Regions from separate parts of the Homo sapiens genome. Here regions 1, 2, 3, 4, 5 and 6 are each linked to region 7. The links are contacts of gene promoters, found by promoter capture Hi-C in blood cells and fetal thymus (Javierre and others, 2016). All regions are on one chromosome and are shown on one strand. The core of a region is centred on a gene start or on the middle of the fragment in contact, and the rest is flanking DNA. Distances in the headings are between cores, read along the strand shown. Region 1 overlaps FANCI (FA complementation group I). Region 2 overlaps ABHD2 (abhydrolase domain containing 2, acylglycerol lipase). Region 3 overlaps ABHD2 (abhydrolase domain containing 2, acylglycerol lipase). Region 4 overlaps POLG (DNA polymerase gamma, catalytic subunit). Region 5 overlaps ABHD2 (abhydrolase domain containing 2, acylglycerol lipase). Region 6 overlaps RLBP1 (retinaldehyde binding protein 1). Region 7 holds the start of MRPL46 (mitochondrial ribosomal protein L46).

Evidence for each region. The method cuts DNA at HindIII sites, captures the fragments that hold promoters and counts their contacts. A CHiCAGO score of 5 or more calls a contact.
Region 1: a contact is called between a fragment that was not itself captured here and the fragment with the promoter of MRPL46 in region 7, in 3 of 17 cell types (total CD8 T cells, non-activated CD4 T cells and total B cells). The highest score is 6.7, in total CD8 T cells.
Region 2: a contact is called between a fragment that was not itself captured here and the fragment with the promoter of MRPL46 in region 7, in 7 of 17 cell types (naive B cells, total B cells, naive CD4 T cells and 4 more). The highest score is 8.4, in naive B cells.
Region 3: a fragment that was not itself captured here is called in contact with the fragment with the promoter of MRPL46 in region 7 in 7 of 17 cell types (naive CD8 T cells, naive B cells, naive CD4 T cells and 4 more); the score reaches 7.5 in naive CD8 T cells.
Region 4: a fragment that was not itself captured here is called in contact with the fragment with the promoter of MRPL46 in region 7 in 1 of 17 cell types (naive CD4 T cells); the score reaches 5.6 in naive CD4 T cells.
Region 5: a fragment that was not itself captured here is called in contact with the fragment with the promoter of MRPL46 in region 7 in 3 of 17 cell types (total B cells, naive CD8 T cells and activated CD4 T cells); the score reaches 6.4 in total B cells.
Region 6: a fragment that was not itself captured here is called in contact with the fragment with the promoter of MRPL46 in region 7 in 1 of 17 cell types (total CD4 T cells); the score reaches 5.0 in total CD4 T cells.

Annotation. Positions count from the first base shown.
Region 1 is chr15:89,249,096-89,252,907 of GRCh38, reverse strand. All of the region lies in intron 2 of FANCI (FA complementation group I), which reads right to left. Among named protein-coding and RNA genes, the nearest start is that of FANCI, 7.0 kb to the right of the region's middle. The HindIII fragment of the contact is 521 bases long and covers 1,117-1,637 here.
Region 2 is chr15:89,167,316-89,171,205 of GRCh38, reverse strand. All of the region lies in intron 5 of ABHD2 (abhydrolase domain containing 2, acylglycerol lipase), which reads right to left. Among named protein-coding and RNA genes, the nearest start is that of RLBP1, 52 kb to the left of the region's middle. RefSeq lists enhancers at 3,462-3,831, 2,741-3,890. The HindIII fragment of the contact is 4,422 bases long and covers 1-3,890 here.
Region 3 is chr15:89,149,012-89,152,907 of GRCh38, reverse strand. ABHD2 (abhydrolase domain containing 2, acylglycerol lipase) reads right to left here. Exons shown (of 11, transcript NM_152924.5): 4 at 1,056-1,231. Among named protein-coding and RNA genes, the nearest start is that of ABHD2, 63 kb to the right of the region's middle. The HindIII fragment of the contact is 176 bases long and covers 2,358-2,533 here.
Region 4 is chr15:89,317,674-89,320,498 of GRCh38, reverse strand. It overlaps POLG (DNA polymerase gamma, catalytic subunit), which reads left to right. Exons shown (of 23, transcript NM_002693.3): 19 at 1,149-1,271; 20 at 1,400-1,568; 21 at 1,750-1,958. Among named protein-coding and RNA genes, the nearest start is that of MIR6766, 7.7 kb to the left of the region's middle. The HindIII fragment of the contact is 195 bases long and covers 1,478-1,672 here.
Region 5 is chr15:89,106,693-89,110,285 of GRCh38, reverse strand. The region is part of intron 1 of ABHD2 (abhydrolase domain containing 2, acylglycerol lipase); the gene reads right to left. Among named protein-coding and RNA genes, the nearest start is that of ABHD2, 20 kb to the right of the region's middle. The HindIII fragment of the contact is 1,403 bases long and covers 1,058-2,460 here.
Region 6 is chr15:89,212,501-89,216,122 of GRCh38, reverse strand. RLBP1 (retinaldehyde binding protein 1) reads left to right here. Exons shown (of 9, transcript NM_000326.5): 6 at 885-1,063. Among named protein-coding and RNA genes, the nearest start is that of RLBP1, 7.3 kb to the left of the region's middle. The HindIII fragment of the contact is 1,706 bases long and covers 622-2,327 here.
Region 7 is chr15:88,465,537-88,469,150 of GRCh38, reverse strand. It overlaps MRPL46 (mitochondrial ribosomal protein L46), which reads left to right and starts at 1,763. Exons shown (of 4, transcript NM_022163.4): 1 at 1,763-2,001; 2 at 3,378-3,564. The coding sequence starts at 1,774. MRPS11 (mitochondrial ribosomal protein S11) reads right to left here and starts at 1,443. Exons shown (of 6, transcript NM_022839.5): 1 at 1,369-1,443; 2 at 1,127-1,243. The coding sequence starts at 1,433. RefSeq lists enhancers at 1,593-1,762, 2,229-3,428. The HindIII fragment of the contact is 6,788 bases long and covers 1-3,614 here.

The DNA of each region.
Region 1 (3,812 bases), core at 128-2,627, 780 kb before region 7:
AATTGATAAATTAACTTTGGAAGAATTGACATTTTCGTGATGTTGAGACTCCCCAATCAAGAACAGGGGATATCTTCTTAGTTTTCTACTTTGTCCTTCAGAAGTGTTTCATAGTTTTTTTTCGCATGGGTTTTGGACATTTCTCAGGTTTATTCCTGTTTTAACTTTTCTGTTGCTATTGTAAATGGGGCCCAGGCTGGAGTACAGTGGCGTGATCTCAGCTCACTGCAACTTCCACCTCCCGGGTTCAAGCAATTCTCCTGCCTCAGCCTCCTGAGTAGCTGAGACTACAGGCGTGCACCACCACGCCCAGCTAATTTTTCTATTTTTAGTAGAGTTGAGGTTTCACCATGTTGGCCAGGCTAGTTTAGAACTCCTCACCTCAGGTGATCCGCCTGCCTTGGCCTCCCAAAGTGCTGGGATTACAGGCGTGAGCTAACTGGCTATTATGTATGAATGCTACTGATTTTTGCATATTAATTTTATATTCTGCTACCTTGATGAATTCGTTTATAGATGGTTTTATCACAGATTCTCCAGGGTTTTCCAGGTATACTATCATGCCATCTACAAAGAGAGACGTTTTATATTTTCTTTTTTTTTTTTTTAGATGGAATCTCACTTTGTTTACCCAGGTTGAAGTGCAATGGTGCAATCTGGGCTCACTGCAACCTCCACCTCCCAGGTTCAAGTGATTCTTCTGCCTCAGCCTCCCGAGTAGCTGGGATTACAGGCACACACCACCACGCCCAGCTAATTTTTATATTTTTAGTAGAGAAGGGGTTTCACCATGTTGGCCAGGCTGGTTTCGAACTCCTGACCTCAAGTGATCTGCCCACCTTGGCCTCCCAAAGCGTTGGGATTATGGGTGTGAGCCACTGCACTCAGCCTTTATTTTTCCATTATTATGCCTGTGATTGTTTTCTCTAGGTTAAATGCATAGGCTAGCCAATCAGAACATTATATAGTAATGGAGACAGTAGGCATCATTGCTTTGTTCCCGGCCTTAGAGGAAATGTCTCTATGGTTTCCCACTAAGATGCTGACTCTAGAATTTAGATATATACATTTTATGATGTAAAGGAAACAGCCACCCATTCTGATTTTTCTCAAGCTTTTATTAGGAATGAGTGTTGAATTTTGTCAAAGGCTTTCTCTGATCCATGAAGATAATCGTATAATCTTTATAGTAATATACTTTCAAATACTGAACCAACCTTGTATTCCTGCTATTAAATCCCACTTGATCATGGTGTACTTTTTTTAAATGTGGTGTTGCAATCTGTCCCCTAATATTTAAGACTTTTATATCAATATTCGTAAGTTACATTAGTCTATATCCTCTTTTTTCTATGCTATCTTTATGAGGTTTAAGGTTATACCTGATAAAGATAGCATAAAAAAATCAATGTTATATTTGTTTAATTCAATGTTATACTTGCTTCATTCAAAGAACTTGGAAGTTTTCCTTTATTATTTATGCTCTAAAACAATTTATGTAGCATTAGGACTATCTACCTGATCTCTAAAGGTTTGACAGAAGTTTCCTGCCAATCTATCTGGGCCTGGTGTTTTTGTACGAAGTAGTTCCTTCATAACTTTCTCTTTTCTTCTATGGAAACTGGTCTGCTTAAGCTTTCCATCTCAAATTGGCTCAATTTTATTAAACTGTACGTGCCTAAGAAATTATCCATTTCCTCTAGGTTTTCAAATTTATTTGCACAGGAATCTACTGTAGTCTCACAGTATTTTTTGAGATTTTCTCTGTATTAACAGTATTTCTCCCTTGTCATTTCTCATTTTGTGCATGTTTTTACTCCACTGTTTTGATTATTATATTAATTAATGGTGTTTTTTTCCCCCACAAAGAACCAAGATTTTGATTAATTTGATCCACTATTTTTCTGTTCTCTACTTTATTAATTTCCACTTTTATCTTTAGTAGTTTCTTGTGTTTTTTTGTTGTTGTTTACTTTCTCTTTTTTCTAGGTTTTTGAGTTGGGAATTTATTTATTTTCATTATTTCATTTGTATTGATTTCATTATTTCATTTGTTAAACACTTGTTTTTAACATTATTCCATGGATTTTTAACATGTAGTATTTTTGTTATCTGTAATTATTCTTCAAAAATCCTGTAATTTGTTTGTATCTCTTTTCCTCCAAGAGTTATTTAGAAGGTATTTTTTTATTTTTATATATATATATATTTTTATTATACTTTAAGTTCTAGGGTACATGTGCACAACATGCAGGTTTGTTACATATGCGTACATGTGCCATGTTGGTGTGCTGCACCCATTAACTCGTCATTTACATTAGGTGTATCTCCTAATGCTATCCCTCCCCCCTCCCCTCACTCCACAACAGGCCCCGGTGTGTGATGTTCCCATTCCCGTGTCCAAGTGTTCTCACTGTTCAATTCCCACCTATGAGTGAGAACATGTGGGGTTTGGTTTTTTTGTCCTTGCGATAGTTTGCTGAGAATGATGGCTTCCAGCTTCATCCATGTCCCTACAAAGGACATGAACTCATCATTTTTTATGGCTGCATAGTATTCCATGGTGTAGATGTGCCACATTTTCTTAATCCAGTCTATCATTGTTGGACACTTGGGTTGGTTCCAAGTCTTTGCTATTGTGAATAGTGCCGCAATAAACATACGTGTGAATGTGTCTTTATAGCAGCATGATTTACAGTCCTTTGGGTATATACCCAGTAATGGGATCACTGGGTCAAATGGTATTTCTAGTTCTAGATCCCTGAGAAATCGCCACACTGTCTTCCACAATGGTTGAATAGAAGGTATTTTAATTTCCAAGTAAAAGTGTCTTTGCTTTTTGACTTTTAGTTTCGGTTTTCATTTCCAGTTTTATTGCATTGTGATCACAGAGAATAGTTTGTAATAATTCTACCTTATGGGACCTACCCATGTTTTCTTTGTGCTCTAGTATATGACATGTGATTAATTTTTATGAACATTCTATGTGTTTAAGAAGATAATATATTCTTATCAAAGTTCTCTGCATATATTTTAAATATTCTTTATATTTTCCACCTCTTTACAATCTGTGCTTTATTTAGTTATCCTCAGCTCTGTATTCCACTTTACTAATTTTCTCTTTAGCAATGTTTTGTCTACTGTTAAACCACCTACTGAGGTTTTCATTTCAAGAAGTTGTCTTTCATTGTTTTCTAAATCCATCCCTTATTTTGTGAGTTCTATTCCTTCATTTACATCTTCAAATATTTTAAATACTAGGTCAGGCAGAGTGGCTCACACGTGTAATCCCGGCACTGTGGGAGGCTGAGGTGGGTGGATTGCTTGAGCTCAGGAGTTCAAGACCAGCCTGGAAAGCATGGCGAAACCCCATCTCTGCTAAAAATACAAAAATTAGTCGGACATGGTGGCACATGCTTGTACTCCCAGCTACTCAGGAGGCTGAGGTGGGAGGATCGCATGAGCCCAGGAGGTTGAGGCTGCAGTGTGCCGAGATCGCCCCACTGCACTCCAGCCTGTGCAAGGGTGAGATCCCACCTTTAAATAAATAAAGTTAAATACTGTATTAAGTATTTGTGTTAAATAATTAAAGATTTTTTTCAGATTGCTCTAAATCCTTGAATATGAATTTTCCCATTTCTGTTTGAGTCTTTCTTGCCACAGGACTTCTTTATGTGTTTTATAATTTTTTACTCTGAGTTCATCTTCTGTGGGACATTTTATCAAATGAACTGCCTGCATATATTACTGACATGCTTAACAAATTTGTAGAGGATAAAAAGCTGATTAATACGGTCAGCAGAATCATACAA
Region 2 (3,890 bases), core at 526-3,025, 700 kb before region 7:
ATGCTGACGTTGTTGGTCCAGAGACCACACTTTGAGAACCATTGTCCTAGTTGACAGAAAAGCTGGATGAAATCTTTTCTTTTTTCTTTTGGAGATGGAGTTTTGCTCGTTGCCCAGGCTGGAGTGCAGTGGTGCGATCTTGACTCACTGCAACCTCTGCCTCCCGGGTTCAAACGATTCTCCTGCCTCAGCCTCGTGAGTAGCTGGGATTACAGGCGCCCACCACCACGCCGGGCTAATTTTTGTATTTTTAGTAGAGGCGGGGCTTCACCATGTTGGCCAGGCTGGTCTTGAACTCCTGACCTTGTGATCCGCCCCCCTCGGCCTCCCAAAGTGCTGGGATTACAGGTGTGAGCCACCGCGCCCGGCCTCTTTTGTCTTTTAAAAGTGCAGCTCGAAAAGATGCTTCATGTCACTCATTGTTAAATAGATGCAAGTTAAAATGACACTTAGAAATCATTTTCCACTGCCCATGTTAGAAAAGATGAAGTTTGCCAATACCCAGGACTGGAAGAAGTGTGGGTAACAGGCCCTCTGGTCCATCCACTGTTGAGGGAGTACACATTGGTATAGGCCTTGGAAGGCAATGTGGTAACATCTGTTCATGTTTTTTAAAGTACAAACCTTTGGTCTAGTAATTCTGCCTTTGGGGACTTTATACTGCATATGTATGTAAACATGTACATGCAAGAATGTTCACTGCAGCATTTTGGTGTTTGTAGCAGCAAAGGTTTGGAAACAACCTAAATTTCCATCAGTAGAGGACTGGTTAAATGAAGGACTACACTGTGGTGAAAAAGGATGAATCTGGCCGGGCGCGGTGGCTGATGCTTGTAATCCCAGCACTTTGGGAGGCTGAGGCGGGTGGATCATTTGAGTTCAGGAGTTCAAGACCAGCCTGGCCAACATGGTGAAACCCTGTCTCTGCTAAAAATACAAAAATTATCCAGGCAGTGGTGACACGTGCCTGTAGTCCCAGCTACTTGGGAGGCTGAGGTGGGAGAATCGCTTGAGCCTGGGAAGGGAGGTTGCAGTGAGCCAAGATTGTGCCACTACACTCCAGTCTGAGTGACAGAGTGAGACCCCGTCTCCAAAAAAAAAAAAAAAAAAAAAAAAAAAAAAAAAGAATCTGATCTGACATGGAATGGCTCTGAGCCATCTTAAGGGATAAAAACAAGGGGTGAAACAGTGGGGCTGGCACCCTCTCCCGTGTTTGCTTGGGTTTTAAGGGATTACATACACACATATCTGACTGAATATTCACTGGGAAATTGCAGCAGATATTGATTTCCTGGGGAGAAAAACTGGGGGTCTAGGGTAGGAAAAAGATCTAGTTTCACTCATTGTATGTAGCCTTTGGCACAGTTTGACTGTTTTTCTCATGTGTATTTATTTCTTTTTAAATATGAATCTAACCAGTTTTAAAATCTAGCAAAAAAATAAGGGAAAAAAAGATGTTTACATTTCCTCAGGCCAGTTTCGACAATGCTAAAGACACCCAACATATCACTCATGCTGGAGCAATGGTTTGTGCTGGGGACATTATTTGCCTGCCTAAGAAATAGTACTGAGAAACTTATTTTAAATTGTTATTAAATATTTACTTCTCCACCGCTTCCTAAGGTTTCTGCCTAATTTTGTCATCTCTTAGCTAACTATATCTTTATGTTTGGTTCCAACATTGAATGAGACTCTATTAGATTATAAACTCCATGAAGCAAAGATATTCTTGCTCTTGTTCACCACTGTATCTGTGAGGCCAGATACTTGGTGGGCACTCAATCAGTGTTACCTAAATGAATGGATGAAACAACAGATGTACAGTGTTCAGCCTCTCTTCTAGGAACTTAAACACAGACAAGGAAGCAGATTTAAAGACATGAAATGACTTGTCCACCCTCACATAATGAGTAGGGCCATGTCTACTCATGACCGTGTCTACTCAAAGTCCAACGCTAGACTTTGGACCATGTCAACCCCAAAGCCCAAGCCCCTTGCCTTATATCACAAATCTACTTAGGTAATAGTACTCCAGAGATTTATGCTTCAATTATTAAACATCTTACTCCCCCCAACCATTTGATTCCTTTTATTATTTTTATTCTTATTTTTTTGAGACGGTCTCGCTCTGTCTCCCTAGGCTGGAGTACAGTGGCATGATCATGGCTCACTGCAGCCTTGACCTCCCCAAGCTCAAGACGTCCTTCCACCTTAGCCTCTTGAGTAGCTGGGACTATAGGCACATGCCACCAAACCCAGCTAATTTCTGATTTTTTGTAGAGATGGGCGAACTTGCCTGGGAGGTTCCACTATGTTGCCCAGGCTGGTCTCGAACTTCTGAGCTCAAGAGGTCTGCCCACCTTGGCTTCCTTTCCCAAAGTGCTGAGATTACAGGTGTGAGCCACTGCACCCAGCTTTGATTCCTTTTAGACCCATCTATCATTACTCAGGTTTGAGACTAATTATTTGAGACCTAGAGCAGATGTTCAGATGTCATTGGGACAGTTACAAAACTCAGATTTGCTACACTACTGAGGAGCAATTACAGCTAATTGTGTAGGCACTTTGGGAGCCTCAATTTAATTAAATCCAAACACATCTGATCTGGATAAAGGGCCAACCCTGCCTGATGTCAGACAGACTGCTGGATGTTCTGTGAAGAGATGCCACCTCTCCCATGCAAGGGAAGGGCAAAGACATGGTGCCCAGCTCCAGGATCAGCCTTCTGGAAGGTCCTCCTGGGACCTCCCCTGATGTCAGTTACCAAACACCTTTAGTGCCTGGGGCCTCTCCCTGGCCTGTTATTACTAACAGCTACATTAATCTGTTTTTAAATGAGGCTCTATGTATTTAATTCTTATGGGATTAGCACTAGGTAACTATATAATCTTGCTGCCGCTTTTTAAAGTAAGATGAAATCTGAAACACTAGCTGGGCCTTAGACAGATGAGTATTGCACGGCCATTTTGGAAAGGCAACTTGCTGGGAACAGAAAAGACCCCTCACCTTTTTCTCAAGCCCCTACACCTAAAGAAGGACAAGGCAAAGGCTGCCTGAAAGCTATTATTTCAACAGCCACTTCCCCAAATGACACTAGCATGACTAAATAGGCTAAAATACAGGGACTCGAGACTTGGTGTTCCTTGTGGATGGAGACTCTGAGTCATCTCTGTATGTTCCATGCCAGGCCCATGCATGGCATCTGTGGATATGCCACAAAATGTCAGGTGGATAAGAAGGAAGTTTGAATCGTCTGGAATAAAGGCACACAGTACTCGCCAGCATGAGTAAGCAGGGGACATGAAAGAGGTACTTGAATATCTTTCCCACTAAGTTTAGCCTAAGAGAAAAATACAGTTAAGCTAACATGGCTCGCTGACAGGTGGGCGGTTAGGGGCCTAGCAGCCCCTGTCACTTCCATAGTAAAAGTATGTGAGTCATTTCTTAAAGTCAAGGGGAAACTATCTTAAAGCTGAGTCATCCAGGAATACAATAGCTGTAGAAATAAAGTTAAGGCCCCTTTGTGCTATCAAATTAGTTGGCCTTGCCCTTATCTCTGAAATAAGGATTTTAAAAAATGAGTGTTTTCAGCCTTGTTTCCCCAGGTATAGGATGCCTAAAACTGCCCTCTTATGGCTAAAGGTTTAAGTATTCAGATATCATCCTGAAAGTGCAGAACTCACCACTCTTGGCCACTGTTCTGCTTTGGATATGACTCCCTGACACACTTCCTGAAGCTCCTGGCCCCTGGCTCTCAGCAGACGATCTTGCCAGGTGTTTTACTACGATGTCTGAGTTCTGCAAACTCACTACCTTCACTTTCACATTCTCTCTCTCCCTTCACCCATCTCTTCCTCCTCCCTTCCCATTGTGCCCTTCTGCCATTATAA
Region 3 (3,896 bases), core at 1,196-3,695, 680 kb before region 7:
AGACATGTTCTCTTTTGGTAGCAATAGCATTCAAAAGGATGCTTGTAGTAACTCCACTTCCTCAAAAGTCTTCATTATGAAGCATTTTAGAATGAATGCTATTTGTATAGGCTAGACAGAACAATGCCAAATTCCAGCAGCAATGAAAATTTCAGTTATCTCTCAGAAATAGGTGTCCTAGACCACTGCATGATAGATATGACCTCAATGTGTCTATTTGTCCAGGGAAACCTAAGCAAAGGGAACCTGGGAGCCTTTTAATCTACTGCTATCCAACAAACGCCAGCCTATACTGCATCTCCGAGCTTCAGTTTCCTCATCAGTAAAGTAGGGATAGTAAATACCAGCCTCACAGCGCTATTTGAGGATTAAATGAGATAACAGTATACACGAAGCACTGAGAATGGTCTGGCCTCTGTTGCTGTCATCAACCCAGAGGCCTGGTCCTGGGGTGCCTGGGCTCCAAGCACTCCCTCATCCCCGTACATCAAGCTTCTGTATTTCACAACAGGATTAAAACCTATTCTACGGCTGGGGGCGGTGGCTCACGCCTGTAATCCCAGCACTTTGGGAGGCCGAGGCAGGCAGATCACGAGGTCAGGAGATCGAGACCATCCTGGCTAACACAGTTAAAACCCGTCTCTACTAAAAATACAAAAAAAAAATTAGCCGAGCGTGGTGGCTGGCGCCTGTAGTCCCAGCTACTCGGGAGGCTGAGGCAGGCGAATGGAGTGAACCTGGGAGGCGGAGCTTGCAGTGAGCCGAGATCGTGCCACCGCACTCCAGCCTGGGCGACACAGCGAGACTCCGTCTCAAAAAAAAAAAAAAAACTATTCTACAATGAGTTCTGAAGAGCTTTACATGGTGACTGGCAAACATACGCTGAAGCTAACCTTTGCAGGCTGCTCCTAAGTGACGAATCCCAGCAGGCTTCCCAACAGCCCCTGATGCCATGGGCAGAGTCAGTGGCACAAGTATTCACACTGCTGTGCTCTCCACTGACTAGTGCTCCTTCTCTGAGTGATGGCTCAATCACACAATCTAAAGCAGCTCACCTCCAACACAGTGCTCAGCCAAGGGCTCGAAGAGGTCGAATGTAGAAGTGGCTCCATCAGACATAGTGATGAACTTCCGGTGCCCATAAGGATGTGGCGACCTCACCCTTCCCATCTTCCCATACAAGGCTGTCTGGATGTGTCCACTTTTCCCCCAGATCAACGGTGGAATGTATCTAAAGAAAGGACAAGGGAGGTCAATTTTCTCTACATTCCTTGAGCAACGTTCTGAAAAATCTTTTAGCAAAACTCTTTCAACCTATTTTTGTTCCAGGGAAATTCTGCACACAAAGCATAAACATGAGGCTTTTATTACGTTACATCCGTGCCATGATTTACCGCCTTTCCCCATTTACTAATACACTCTGCATCAGATTAGCTTTAGAAATCAACCAGGACATATATATAAAGAGGATTTCAATTTAGGGTAACTGTTAAGTAATTCAACATGGCTTATTTCCATAATATAGAATAAAAAGAAAGCAAGTGATATATTTTGAACACATTCTAACTTGACAGGTTAGCTCATTATTAAAGGAGCTGATGTATATGAAATAGCATAGCGCCTACACTCACTAAAAGCTCACTTCTTCTTTCCCTAACGAGACAGGCCACAGCTGTAGTGGTTACTCCATTAGCCAAACCTGCTACTCTCAGTTAGTGCTGGGAAGGGCTGCAAATTCTTCTAAGAGCCTGTAAGTGCCTTGTGGGGTGAGGGCACTACTCTATGCTCCAGAGAATATGCTGTAAGGGCAGTGCAGTGTAAATATTTGTTGGATTGATTAAGGATAAAGGCTTGTTAGCCTACGCAAGGCATGAAGCCTCGCTAACAACGGTGCATTGTAAAAACACAGAGTGACTCTAGGCGTTGGTAGGAAATGCAAAAATCACAAATAGTTAATTACCAGGAAAAGAAGATGATCCAAGTTACAACTAAGAAATGATTATGGTTTACAACCACAGTACAAGGTGACTGCATTTACTGAAACCGCTGTTGGTTTCACTTCCATGGCTTTTAGCCCAAGCTTGATGGTTGTCCAGGATTTGTCTCCTATATAAACTGGAGTCGTATAATATAAAATGATAGTGACGTCAATCATTCCCCTCTGTATTATATGGCAGTGGTGAGTGTTTTATTAATAATTTACCTTAACCTACTTGCCTATCATTTCTCTCAGAACCAGATGATCCCCAAAACCCATCTTTGATTTACTCCTTGTATGTGTGTGTAATTAATCAAATCTACACAAAGTTAAGAGAAGTGAAGCTATCACCTTAAGCAAACCAGTTCCCAGACAAGCTTCCTTTTCGGGGGAGGGGAGGAGGGGAAAGAGTATTTTAAGACCTTAAGGACATGAAGCCACTTGCCAGCGTAACACCACAGGTGCAAATATCACTGCAAAAGCCATGGCATTTGGAAGGCAGGCGAAGGCATTTATAAGAGCTGAGTGGATTATGACAGTAACAAAAAGCAAGCTTATAAAAATGTCAATTGGACAACCAAACACTATACAAGATCTAGATACAGAACTTATAAAGGATTTCAGACTACCAAGTTAGATAATAAGTTTTGCATAGAGGAAGAGGACTATCCAAGAAATTAAGCTTTTGATCACTCCTGGAGGAAAGTTTAAAGAAAATTTTGTTTATAAATTAAAAGTGGAAATATGCTGAGCTTAAAAATATCAGAAGAATGAGTAAATTTCATATGCCTACCTTCTGATCATGTTTAGAATACAATATAATCTCAGAAAATAGAACAAAAGAATGAAGTAAAATTTCTTTTTGTCTAGTCACAGATTTCACATTTAATGATGACACATGTGACTGTCCTGATGCCACATTCCCAGTTTAGAGTCAGGTCCCCTCCTCAAAATCTTGGCAGCAGCCCCCCAAGCGGCCTCCAAGCCTCTAGTCTTGCTCTCACCACCTACTCCATCATCCACCCGCCAATGGAGGGGTGATCTCAACACACAAGCCTGGCCCCCACCCTCCACTGCATGGGTCCTCACTTGGCCTAGGAGGCCGGCTACACCCTGGTACTCGCTTAACTTCTTGCCTAAGCTCAAATAAACCTAAACTACCAGGCCCAACTCCAGCCAGAACAGGTACACGTGGTGTTGAACTACTTTTATCTGAGGAGTCTTTGCTCAAGCTGTCTCCTTTGACTGGAATGCTCTTTCACACCCAGCGTTTCTTTGGGCCACCTACTACTTGTCTTTCAAGACTCACTTCCAGTCAGGTTGCTGGGGGGGTTGCCCCTTCTCCATGCACAGCTCCGTCCTAACATCCAGGTGACTTGATTACTTTAGATGCTGTTTTCAAGCCAACCCCTCCTGCTGCTCATTCACCTCTAGCTCTATCCCCAGAGCACTGGACATACATTACACACCTGGGGGAGATTTGCTTCAATGAACAGAATATAGAGACACTTAGTAAATCTAAAAGGACAAATATATGTTTTTAAAATATACAAAAATATATTTAAAAATAATATGTGCCATAATAATGTGAATTCAGCTATTACATGATTGGCGTTAGGCGACTGTCCTCTTTCCAGCCTACCTAACACCCCATTCTCAGAGTGGGGTGCAGTAATTCTCAGTGTGAGTGTGTGTGTGTGTGTGTGTGTGTGTGTTAGGGATCAATTGCCTCACAATCACTTGGGACTTTCTCAGTTCAATGTAAGATCAATTATACACAGTGGAAGTCTCAAAAGGTTTAATTTTATGACAATACCTACTGATAAAACACTGTTTTTAATTAACTTCATAATAATACAACACCAGGGTTTACAAAATTGAATTTTTAGACTGCATTTACTATGGTGGGGTTCAATGT
Region 4 (2,825 bases), core at 326-2,825, 850 kb before region 7:
CTGATTATGCTGCATAATCAATAATACAGGGGTTGCAAACTCAGATGCCTACAGGGAATGAGAGCAAATGGAGTGGGTGGAAGACAGGAGTTGACAGGAGGGCGCTGTGGCAAACTGGAGCATGTAGGCTGATGTTGATACTGGAGAAAGCATTACCAGGCCTCCAGGTTACTTAGCCTAGCTCTCCAATTTGTTTCCTCTGATCGTACTGCATACTGTGTGCTCAGGGCCTTAGCAGACTCTCTGCAGGGTTCCAAAAACATTGAGGGAAGAGAGGTACAACTTCCTGAGGTACAGTACACTGTCCACATTTAATTAGCTGGCTCATTGTGGAAACTTCACTTTCTCGTCAACAACTAAAAGTTAAGTATGTGATAAATGATATAGTGGTTGATGACTATAAATGCAGGGAAGGGGAGCTGAGTATCGTCCAGTGGATAAAGTGAGGTCGGGTAAGGCTCATACCGTGAGCAGCGTGTGCTGGTGGAGGCGAGAAAGGTGGTGGGGCTTTAGTTGTGGACACCTTTGAAAGTGTCACAGGAGTTTGGACTGTGGGTGCAGGTGGTGGGGAAGCCATTTATGCGAGTGACGTGTCTCTGGAGCCTTCAGGCGACAAGCCTTGTGAGGTCTGCAGGTTAGATGGAAGCTGGGAGTTGTCTAGGGTTGTGGCAGTTGAGAGGGGTAAGCCAGGCCTGGCTGTTGTGTTTTCTGCTTCAACAAATGCCCCCTCCCCTTCAGGGAGTAGCCTATTCTTACCCCTATCCCCCCAAATCTAGAGTGATGGCCCTTGCTGCCTCCTGAATAAAAGGCCCGTGTTGGTCATTGGGCAATTCAGTGTCTAAAGAAACAGGACAGTAGGAATAGTGGTGCCTCCTGTGCTGGAGTCTTTGTCCTTTATTGGGCTACCATGGGGTGGCCCAGGCTTTGGGGCTACAAAAGCCTGGGCTGCATCTCTTTCTAGCTCCATGATCCTAGGCAAGGCACTTAGCCTCTCTGAGCCGTTTCTTCCTCTGAATAAAAGCCTTTAGGGGACTGGCATGATGTCAGTGTTTTTAAAAGTTGAAGTGATATGTGAACATTCCTTGCCAAGGCACTAGCGTGGCACAGGAAGCACTCCCGTGGAATGATGGTGATAACACTGCCCCCAGGTATCGGCTGTCGGATGAGGGCGAGTGGCTGGTGAGGGAGTTGAACCTCCCAGTGGACAGGACTGAGGGTGGCTGGATTTCCCTGCAGGATCTGCGCAAGGTCCAGAGAGAAACTGCAAGGAAGTAAGAACCTTCTTTGTGTTAAGGATGGAGGGAGGGGTCTGGGCTTGCCCCAGAAGAGCTTGGATGCTTTGTTTTTTAGCTTTGAGATGCTGAAAGACAAAGTCTGCCCTCTGTTTCTGGTCCCTTAGGTCACAGTGGAAGAAGTGGGAGGTGGTTGCTGAACGGGCATGGAAGGGGGGCACAGAGTCAGAAATGTTCAATAAGCTTGAGAGCATTGCTACGTCTGACATACCACGTACCCCGGTGCTGGGCTGCTGCATCAGCCGAGCCCTGGAGCCCTCGGCTGTCCAGGAAGAGGTATCTTGCTACCTTTGGAGCATGGGCAGAGGGGCCCCAGGGAGGGCAGGGCAGAGCTCCCTGTGGACCTTACCAATGTTTGTAGGTAGGGCCAGAGTGAAGCTTCTCTTGGGGCTTCTACCCTGGAGTTAATTGGTATGTAGCATAGCCCCTTTCACCTCTGCCCACCTTCCCTTCCCAGTTTATGACCAGCCGTGTGAATTGGGTGGTACAGAGCTCTGCTGTTGACTACTTACACCTCATGCTTGTGGCCATGAAGTGGCTGTTTGAAGAGTTTGCCATAGATGGGCGCTTCTGCATCAGCATCCATGACGAGGTTCGCTACCTGGTGCGGGAGGAGGACCGCTACCGCGCTGCCCTGGCCTTGCAGATCACCAACCTCTTGACCAGGTATGCGGGGCCCATGGCCTCTAGCCTGGCCATGTGCTCCTATGTGGGGCTTTGGGTGAGCGTTCCTTGGGCCAGACTGGTCAGTTTTGACTTTTCATCCCCCTAGAAGTGAATGTTTCAGCTTATTTATTTATTTCTAATTTTTAAAAAGTTGTAGAAGTCCTAAAAAGACTAGCCTCAATTCGTAAAAAAAGAGTTATTGGGTTTGAAAATGTGAAATACCAAGACTGATCATTGAGGGAAGCAGTGAGGTTAGGGGAATTGTTCCGAAGGGTGGTACTCACGCTTTTCTATTTGGAAAATCAAATGACAGAAGCCTTTTCTCATTTCATAGAAAATTGAGATGTTTGTTTTTCTTTCTCCCATAAATGTTTTCTTTCTTAAGTAAGTGCCAAAAGTTTGTTATTTGACTGCTAACAGAAAACACTGTTAATGGGGACACTCAAATGTGATTTTTAAAAATATCTTATATATTTTATATATTGAGTTGTATTTTCTTGTAGTAAAATTCCTAGTTCATATGGATGAATTAAATATTACCGTTCCATGTTGATCTGCCACTCAGAACCAGTTTGGGAACCATGATCTATCCTGATTATTGGGTAAATAACAGATGTTTACAATATTCAACATTGTTCCCATTGCCCTCTTAATCATCATCTCCGGGAGGTTATGCTTAACAAAGCTAAAAGTCCTCATTTATGCTTCAAACTCTGGCCCAATTGGAAGTGATTTCGTATATTAATTAATAAAGTGTACCAAACTGGGAAAAAAAAAAAAAGTATGTTGAGTCCATAATTGCATTTCAGTATCTCAGTGGGAGGTTAGGCTGCTGGATGGAAAACAGTGCTGGACCTTCACCTTTCT
Region 5 (3,593 bases), core at 510-3,009, 640 kb before region 7:
GTTCAAGATGAGCCTGGCCAATATGGGGAGACCCCATCTCTACCAAAAATACAAAAAAATTAGCCAGGTATGGTGGCACGTGCCTGTAATCCCAGGCTGAGGCAGGAGAATCACTTGAACCTGAGAGGTGGAGGTTGCCACACTACCACACTCCAGCCTGGGCAACAGAGTGAGAGTCCGTCTTAAAAAATAAAAAAAAAGAAAATAAGAGAAAAGATAGTATAAAAAGAAAAATTTAAATAAAAGCAATACAGTATTTAAATTATTTACATCATTTACTTTGTAATAGGTATTATAAGTAATCTAGAGATGATTTAATGTATATAGGAGGATATGCATAGGTTATATGCAAATACTATGTCATTTTATATCAGACTTGATCATCTGTGGGTTTGGTATCTGCAGGGGAACTGGAACTATTTCCCCAAGGATATACAGGAACGACTGTATAAAATGTAGAAGCATGTGTAAGTATGAGTGTGTGCATGTACGTGCATATACATAGGTATTAAATGAGGAGATAAGTAATTTTAGAAGAAAAATTTTCACATTCACTTTATCTTGCTGCATTTTGTTTTATGGTATTCTTTTTTCCCCAAGTCTGACTTGTCACTATATATTAATATTCTGAACTTGTTCTAGATACAGCAAACTCTGATTCCATTGTATTATTTTGTGTGGCCCTCCCCACTTTCCAGACAGGTGAAATCCAGTTAAAATGAACATCAGGCAGCCTAGATAGGGAAAAGAAGTCACAGAGAACAGCTGGAGGGCTGGGTATGTCGCAGATGGAAAGGAAGCGTCTCCCTACCCCCACCCCAAACCCAGCTCCACCTTCATGATGGGCTGGGCTTCCTGTGTCCCTGTGGCAATCCCTTCTCTGTCGGCTAGCCCACACCTTCCCTGCCATTTTATGAATGGGATTTAGGTGCTGTAAATGGTAGTCAGAATTCCATTTATAGTCCGCATTAACAAAGGAAACCAAGGTGCTACCAAATGCCCAACATCTAGTCACCAAAGGAGCTCCCAGTGTTGCCCCTGGTCTCTAAGACAAGCTTGACTGGTATTTCCACCAGAGGTGAAGGCCTGAGCTGTGTCTCCCATGCCTCTTTCTGCTCTCCCCTGGCTAAAAGCATTATTTTCAGATGGAGGCACAGATAGAGTGAGAAACTGCCACTGCACTGGGAAAAGCTCCAGTCTGGGGGCTCTGAGACCTGGGTCCTAGTGTCTGCTCTGCCCTTTCCTGGCTGATGACCTTGAATCAAGGCACTTAATCTTTTTGGGCCCTAAAGGCCCCATCTGTAAAATGAGAAGGTTAGATTAGAAGTAGATGATGCCAAAGGTCTCTTTCAGCTAGAAATGTCTGAGATTCTAGGGACAGAATTGCGGTCCTCGGCTAAAGAGCACAGGAAAAAACTATCGCTGTACTTTGTAACAGAAAACGGCCATTTTCCAGCCTACTTCATAGATGATTACACAGTAAAATTCTTAAGAACTAACAACCCTCAGGGCCTTTGTTCTTTCTTCAAATAAATTAAACAGTTATATATTTTCTTTCAGCTGTGCCAATAATTTCATCATATTCATTCCACCTGCATGGGATCGTGATGCTTTCAGCCTTGGAACACCAATATTCACTGACAGGACACAACTTACAGTGCGGAAAGCACGAACAAACAGAGCAGAGAGATCCCAAACAAAGGAAACCCATTACCTGGTGTAGCAAGTTGAATAGGGACCCTCCCCACAAAATTCATGTCCATCTGAAACCAGTGAATGTGACGGTATTTGGAATTGGGTCTTTGCAAATGTAATCAAGTTAAGATGGGGTCGTACTCGTTGGAGGGAGTCCTAACCCCATGACTGGTGTCCTTGGAAGAAGTGAAATCTGGATACAAAGACACAGATACAGAGGGGAGGAGGCCACGTGAAGATGGAAGTGGAGACTGGAGCCACGTATCTACAGCAAGCAATGCCAAGGATGGCTGGCAACCATCAGAAGAGGAGACAAGCAGGGAACAGTCTTGCCTTCAGAGCCTAAGGAAGGAGCCAACCTTGTAAAACCTGTTTTCAAACTTCTAGCTTCTAGAATGGTGAGAGAATATGCCCAAATTACCTCTCATGACTCAGGAGTTCCACGCTCCTGTCCTTAGTGGCTGAAGGGACCGTTTGCCACTTCCTTCTGAAAGGACCCTTGTTACTCAGACACGCTCCCATCAATTCAGATGACAGCTAACTGACATGAACACCCACAGATGACTTCTTAACATAATACAAATTGCATTCTGTGAATAAATACTTATTGGCTTGGCTTCTTTGCCTCTGTGATTCAGCTATCAGAACCATCCTTTCCTTTCCTCTTAGCTATCAGCAAAGTGAGAGAGCTCAGAGGACACAGACAGCTGGGGGAGGGGGAGATCTCTCTTCCTTGCAACCCTCAAGGACCTAGCACAACAAGCTTTGATACTTATGGGTCCTAAGGCAAATACCTCTCAAGGAAAACCAAACCAAACCCCTAAAGGATTTCTCTGTTCCAATTCCATCTGGTTGAAGATGTAAATTTCATTTAGGGTCCAGTCCTGCAGTGACACAGCCAGTGCCAAATCCAGCCACAGTGTTTGTCCTGGGGCAAGTTCCTTAATCCCTCTGAACACCATCTGTAAACTGAACATGTTAATACATAAAGAGCATTTTAAAACAATGCCGGCATACAATACTACCGTATTTTTAATATTTTGGGGTACTACCGCAAAATATTCGCTATTACCATCTCCACTATTAAACTTTCCTCCATTTTGCCTCAGTAAACAACCTAAGTTGACAGATAGAAACGACCACAAAACATACTCCTTCCTAACTGACACACAAGTCTCATTAGCAATGAACTCACTAGCTGATTAACTGCTTGGGCCTCCTCCAATGAGTTTAAAATTAATTCCAGGACATACTCTTCTTGATTCTTCTAAAATGGAACCATATCTTCTAAAATGGAACCATGTTAGACTTAATAAATCACTGGATACTAAGTGGTGATCATCATGTCCCATAAACAGTTCCAAGATGCATTGTTCTTGTTTTCTGTGCTAAAATGCATCCTTGGCAGTGCACAGCTGGAACCCCTGCTCCTGACACCACCCCTCTCCTGCTGAGGGGCTTCTCCTGCCCATGGAAAGACTACCCATTCTTCCCTGCAGGTAAAAATCCCCTCTTGCCTAGCCTGGATCTCCCAGCAAACTGTAATGCCCTGAGATAAAACTTTGTCCCCCAAAGTACCCTGTGAGGATGTCAGGAGAAGGACAGCAGAAGGCCACAGCACACCACCCCAAAAACATGGTCTGTTTCCATCCCATGTCATTCTGATTTTTCAGCCTCTTTGGTGGCAGCTTAGATAAAAGTACAACCCCATCTTAACTTGATTACATCTGCAAAGACCCAATTTCCAAATAAGGTCACATTCACTGGTTTCAGATGGGACATAAATTTTGGAGGGTCACTATTGAACTTGCTACACCAGATAAAAGTGGTCAACCTTAAATGTGGGCAACATGACACCCTTGGAGAGAAAGTAAGGAGGAAATGGGCCACCTTCTCCC
Region 6 (3,622 bases), core at 225-2,724, 750 kb before region 7:
GCCCTGGTGGAACTCATATTCTAATGGTGGAAACAATACATCCAATAAATAAAGTAAAATTATATAGGGTTAAATAATGGTAAGGAATAAGGAAAGAAATTAAGGAGGTGGATATAAAGTCTTGAGGGGCTGAAGTTTTAGATAAAGTGGCCAGGGAAGTCCCAGTGCAAAGGGAATTTTGAAGAAAAACCCGAAGGAAATGAGATATCTGTGGGGAAGAGCAGCCAGGGCAGAGGCAACAGCAAAGACAAAGGCCAGGGGTTGGGAGGTGCCCAGAGTGTTCCAGAGCAGTGAGCAAGTTGATGTGGCAGTCTCTTGGCAGAGGTGCCCAGGTCCTCTAGGGGCTCAAATTTGGTGGTGCAGGCCACAGAGGTGGGGAACTGCTCAGGATGGGTAAGGATGGTGTTTGTGGACCGTAGAGGTGCTGCTGGAATCAGGAGCTCTGTGTCCTGCTTGGGGTTTGGATTTTACTTGGGAGCTTCTCCTCAGCCCTGTGCACACCTCACCACTCAGCTTATCCTGTGCCCAGCTGAAAAATCTGTGTCTTGTCCCCATGGGGAAGAAAATAACAAGTAATGATTATCCTCATATTTAAGACTATGCCTCATGTTTGCCCAAGCTTATGATGATGTTTACACCTTGAATCTCATTTGATTGCCACAACAATTTGGTGAGATAGGCCACTATCTAGACTATCTAGAATAGATAGGTCAATATCGAGATCCCATTTTTTGGAGAGGAAACATGGGGCTCGGATAGGTTGAGTAGCCAGCTCGGTCACACATAGGACCTGGCAGGAGGTCAGGTCTCTGAGTCCCACTAGGAGGGATGGGGTAGGGATGGGATGGCTCCCTGAGGGGGTTCCTCTGCTCTCCTTCCTCCAGGCTATGTGAATTTCCGGCTGCAGTACCCTGAGCTCTTTGACAGCCTGTCCCCAGAGGCTGTCCGCTGCACCATTGAAGCTGGCTACCCTGGTGTCCTCTCTAGTCGGGACAAGTATGGCCGAGTGGTCATGCTCTTCAACATTGAGAACTGGCAAAGTCAAGAAATCACCTTTGATGAGGTTAGTGGGGGCTCGCCTGGCTCCCACCCTGTGGGCTGGGTTCCCTCCCTCAACCCTGGCCTCTACTGGGCCCTCATTCCTGGTTCTCCAGGAGGCAAGGTCTGTAGAGGGGGAAAGGTGGGCAGCCACCTGCCACCTAGCCCTTTCCAGGCAGGGAGAGAATTCCTAGGATGTGCCAGGGCAGCTGGAAAACCCAGTAGCTTTGCAGGTGGAGCTTGATGGTCAATAATACATGGCTCTTCCTGGGTATCCCTGCCAAGTGCCAAGTGGGGGTAACAGCTGTGTGCCATGAGCTGGGGGCTGCCCTGCCACATGCTAAATGCTGAGAGCAACAGAGAGAACAGGGATTAGTGGACTATAGGCTGGAAGAGATTCTGGAAAGCACAGGTTCCAATCTATTTAGGAGCCCGAGTTCTTTGTGCTCGCAAAATTGTGTACGCAATTTTGCTTGTCTGAGCCGTTAAGGGGGCTGCCCCAAGTTGGGGAATTAGGGTTTGTCTTGGGAGAACTTTGGCATGCGCCACTGAGCCTGAAAAAGATTCCTTTAATTTAAAAAAAAAACTGCTACAAACTTATTTTATTTTATTTATTTATTTTTGAGATGGAGTCTCGCTCTGGTCACCCAGGCTGGAGTGCAGTGGCATGATCTTAGCTCACTGCAACCTCCGCCTCCTGGGTTCGAGCGATCCTCAAGCCTCAGCCTTCCAAGTAGCTGGGATTACAGACGCACGCCACCATGCCCAGCTAATGTTTGTATTTTTAGTAGAGACGGGGTTTCACCATGTTGGCCAGGCTGGTCTCAAACTCCTGAGCTCAAGTGATCCGCCCACCTCGGCCTCCCAAAGTGCTGGGATTACAGGCATAAGACACCGCACCTGGCCCAAACTAATTTTAGATAATGCTATCTAGTTGTGCCAACACAATTTATTAAAAAGTCCATCTTTTTTCAATGACTTGAAATGCCATCTTTATCATGTTTTATATTTTCGTATGTGCTTGGTCTATTTCTGGACTTTCTATTCTGTTCCATTGGTCTCTTTATCTATTCATACTCCAATATCATACTGTTTCGATGATAGAGATTTTGTGGCATGTTTAATCTGTTAGGGCTAGTTTTGTCCTTAGTGATCTGCTTTTTGGGGGGCTTTTCTAGCTACTTTTGCATGTTTATTTCCCCCTATGATCTTCAGAATTAATTTGTCTAGCTTTAGGAGAAATATTAGGAGTATGTTTTGGGGATAATATTAAACATAAATAACAAGCTTGGGGAGAGCTGGCTTCTTTCAGAATGTCACATTCCTGGCCAGTTGTCCTATCCACAAATGTGAGATGCCTTCTGTTTTCTTCAAGCCTACTTTTGAGTTTTCAGGAGTGTTTTAAAGATTTCTTCATAAGCTATGACTGTGCTACTGCACTTCATCTGGGGGGACAGAGAGAGACTCTGCTTCTGAAAAATAAAAAGGTTTTAAAAATTTTTTCCTCACAACGTTGTGCACATTTTTCATTAAATTTGTCTTAGGTATTAATTTTGTTGTCATTGCTAAAAATGGGGCTCTTTCTTCCATTATATCTTCTAGTTGGTTATTGTTTGTATAAATGAAGGTTATTGTTTTTGTTTTTTAATTGTATATCCCCCTATTTTACTGAACTCTTTTAAAATTTATGTTAGTTTTATAATGGATTCTCTGGGGTTTTCTAAGTATACTATAATACTATCTGTAAGTAGAGGAGATAGTTTTTCTTCTCCCTTTCCACTTCTTATGCCCCTGATTTTTTTTTTTTTAACAAATTGATTGCATTGGTTAGTACTTTCAATATAGAATTAAATGGTGGCAGAGATGGTGAAGTCTTTATCTAATTCCTGATCTTAGTAAGGATGCCTCTAGGGTTTTCCCATCAAATAAGACACTGGCTGTAGGACTGAAATGCACACCTGCCTATCTGTGTGTATTAAGGAAGAGACTTAAATATATGTTTTTTCTTATTACGTAAGTGATATCTACTCATTTTAGAAAATACAAAAAATTGGCTGGGCGCAGTGGCTCATGCCTGTAATCCCAGCACTTTGGGAGGCCAAGGTGGGTGGATTGCCTGAAGTCAGGAGTTCGAGTCCAGCCTGGCCAACATGGTGAAACCCTGTCTGTCTCTACTAAAAATACAAAAATTAGCCAGGCATGGTGGCAGGCACCTGTAATCCCAGCTACTTGGGAGACTGAGGCAGGGGAATCGCTTGAACCTGTGAGGCAGAGGTTGCAGTGAGCCAAGATCGCACCACTGCACTCCAGCCTGGGTGACAGAGCAAGACTCCATCTCAAAAAAAAAATTACAGACAAATTTAAAATCATTTGCAATTCTACTACCTAGAGAGCTCTACTATTGACATCCTTCCAATCTTTTCATACATGTATGCACGCACATACACACACACACACACGCGCACACACACACACATTTTTCTTTTTTTTTTTTTTTTTGAGACACAGTTTTGCTCTTGTCGCCTAGGTTGGAGAGCAGTGGCGTGATCTCGGCTCACTGCAACCTCTGCCTCTCAAGTTCAAG
Region 7 (3,614 bases), core at 514-3,013:
GTTACCTTTGTCTCCAATGACCCACTTCAACTTGTCCAGATGAACTCCCATTCACTTCTGAGCTCCATGTTCTTTTCTCCATGGTCTTGCCTGATTTCCTCAGGAATGAGACACTTATTCTTTTTTTTTTTTTTTTTCTTTGAGACAGAGTCTCAATCTGTCACCCAGGCTGGAGTACAGTGGCGTGATCTTGGCTCACTGCAACCTCCGCTCCCTGGGTTCATGCGATTCTTCTACTTCAGCCTCCTGAGTGGCTGGGATTACAGGTGCCAGACATCACGCCTGGCTAGTTTTTGTGCTTTTAGTGGAGACGGGGTTTCGCCATGTTGGCCAGGCTGGTCTCGATCTCCTGACCTCAAGTAATTCGCCCACCTTGGCCGCCTAAAGTGCTGGGATTAAAGGCATGAGCTACTGCACCCGGCCAGGAGTTAGACACTTATGATTTCATACTTCCAACCAATGCTTACCTCCATTATATTATTGAGCAGATTATGGTTAAAATGTTTGCATGTTTGTCTTCCCTCAAAGACTGTGAACTACTTGTGGGGAGGAATGATCTTTTGTATCTGTATTCACGGCACCTAGCATGGTGTCTCACTCATAGTAGATTCTTGGTAAATGTTTGTTAAATGGATGTGAAGTTAAGTGGATGTGTATACAGCATACAGAGGTGGTGGCACTGGTGGGAAGCAAGATGCCAGTTCCTAGGGCTGAGCACAAAACCCACCCTGGACCATCCGTAAGACGTGCAGGAACATCTGTTCCATCGCTAGCGCCCTCTACCTCCCCATTTTGTTTTGGAGGCAGGGAAGGTTATTGGTCTGAAAAGATCTCCATCTCAGAAGAAAAGAACGCTGATACATGTTATGGATATCTCACATTCACTCATTGATTTAACGAATGTTCACTGAACATTTACTCTGTACCACGGCTCATCTGATTCTCACAACCTCTCTCAGCATTATCCGCATTTTTAGATGAGAAGGCTGAGGCTCAGATTTATTTGCATAAGGTCCCACGGATAGCAAGTGACATAGCTGAAAATTCACTGGTTCTGACTCTGGAGGGTGTCGGGCAAGAGTCAGGGGTTGCGGGTCTCCAGAGGGCTGGTCCAAGTGGGGCTCACCTGAACTTGGTGTGGCTGGGAGCCGCGTTCTGTTCAACTTTCTGCTTGGCCGCAGCGTCTTGGAGCTGTCGAGCGCCTGTGCAGATGGTCCCGGCCGGCGTTCTGGCCACGACCCTGCTGGGAAGAAAAGCTCGGTGAGGGCCACGGCCTAACGGTCACTGGGGCCCGGGTGGCTCAAGGGACACGAGTAGGAGCATAGTCCTGGAGGTGGCGGTGGGCTCGAGGGGGCAGTCATTTGTTACCCGGCTGTCTGGGGCCAAGTCCAGGACCGCAGGAACCGCGACCCCGCGTTTCTCACAGCCTGCATGACTTGAATTGACCCCAGTCAGTTTCCGTCTGCAGCGACAGTCACAGCTGCGCCGGCGCCGGTACCATGAGTGCCTGTCGGGGAGGGGACAGAAGGGAAAGTCATCTACTCTTCATTAGGTCCACTGAATATTTTTATTTCCATTTAAATGCTCAATAAGACTTTCACTGTAGTTCACCAGGGGATTCTTTCCCTTTTTTAATGTTCTGAGATGGTGGGTCACCCCCTCCATATGCGAATGGTTCGTTCTAGCAGTTCCGGGACTGAGCTTTCCCCTAGTTTGCCGCTCCCGCGGCTGAGGGATCCCTGGGAGCCGCGGTGCATTGTGGGAGAACGAAAGATGGCGGCGCCCGTAAGGCGGACGCTGTTAGGGGTGGCGGGGGGTTGGCGGCGGTTCGAGAGGCTCTGGGCCGGCAGTCTAAGCTCTCGCAGCCTGGCTCTTGCAGCCGCACCCTCAAGCAACGGATCCCCATGGCGCTTGTTGGGCGCGTTGTGCCTGCAGCGGCCACCTGTAGTCTCCAAGCCGTTGACCCCATTGCAGGAAGAGATGGCGTCTCTACTGCAGCAGGTGGGACTGAGATGCAGGGTTCAGAGTGACGTTTATTCTGCGTGACTTTGAGCGAGTAATTTCACCTCTCTGAACTTAAGTATACGGTACTTATCCGCAGAATGGTACCTACCTTACTGACTTGGTTTGGTACATAGATGTTCAACAAAAAGTGGTTTCTTTTCATTGGCCGTGTTTATTGTCACCTTAGACAACTCTTTGGAGATACTCTACTTCTTGTTCATGCAACACAATAGGGATCCTGTGGTGAACAAGAATCGGTCCGTGTCACTAGGAGCTTACAAGTCTGGAGGGAGAAAGTCTTTGTGATGTGATGAATGTTAAGAAGGAAATACAAGAGGCGGTGGGCACATCTGTCAGATGCCTATGATAAGCCTACTCTGTTTTATCTCATGGGGCTATCTGTGTGAGGGGCAAGTGAGGAAGCATGGGCAAAAACAGTGTAGTGGCTGTGAAGGTGTGAGGTCGCTACAGAAAGTGTTTGAAGGGTGATATGTTTCCTCAGAATCCGAGATGTTTTTGTCTTGGTCTGTTGAGAACTATAAACTTCTCTTCTGTGCTTTTTGCTTGATTTATTCATTTACTCGCTCGCTTGACAAATATTTGTTACTCAACCTACAGATGTTCATTGTGCCCATACTATGCATCAGAGAGTATGTTAAGTGATAGAGATGCTGTAATGAATAAGGCAGAAGTAGCTCTGGTTCTCAGAGTACTTCAGTCTAGTTGAGTGAGGGGATCAGTCAGTAACCAAATAATCATACAACTAAATGCAGACCCTGATAAGTGTTGTTAAGGAAAACACAAGGCACTATAAGAGTGTTTAACAAATACATCACATTTTGATTTTATGGTGAGTGTCAAGGAATGCCTCAGACTTTCTGAATACAGGTTTTTCTCTTTATGAGAAATGTCTCTCTGAGACAGTCATATTTAAATTGAAATCAGAAAGATGAGTAGGACTCTCCCAGAAGAAAGAATGTGAGGAAAAACATTCTAGGAAGAAGGAACAACCTCTTGAAAGTCCCTGAACAGGAAAGTCCTTGGTGAGTGAGATTCTGATCAAAGACTGACATGACTGGATTGTGGTGAGTCAGCAGGCATTGCCCAACCCAGCTCTCTGTTTTTGTAGCACTCTTGACCCCCAGTGACATTGTAACATTTTTGGCAAATGTAACTCAAGCCCAAAGTTCAGAGGACCTTTTTTTCCCTCCATTTCCTTTCTGCATGGTGTTTTGACTGTGTATCTGGTTATGTTGGGTGATAAACTTCTGAGCTTGCCAAGTGTGCCATGTCTCTGTTTTATTCTTCCTGTTTTTTTTTTCCTTTTAATTTTGCCAGATTAAGGTAGTTTTTTGCCCTTTGAATTTTCCCAGATTGAGATAGAGAGAAGCCTGTATTCAGACCACGAGCTTCGTGCTCTGGATGAAAACCAGCGACTGGCAAAGAAGAAAGCTGACCTTCATGATGAAGAAGATGAACAGGATATATTGCTGGCGCAAGATTTGGAAGATATGTGGGAGCAGAAATTTCTACAGTTCAAACTTGGAGCTCGCATAACAGGTTGTGATCCTTTTAGGCCAGCCAGAAGGAAGGGAAAAGGGGTATTTGGA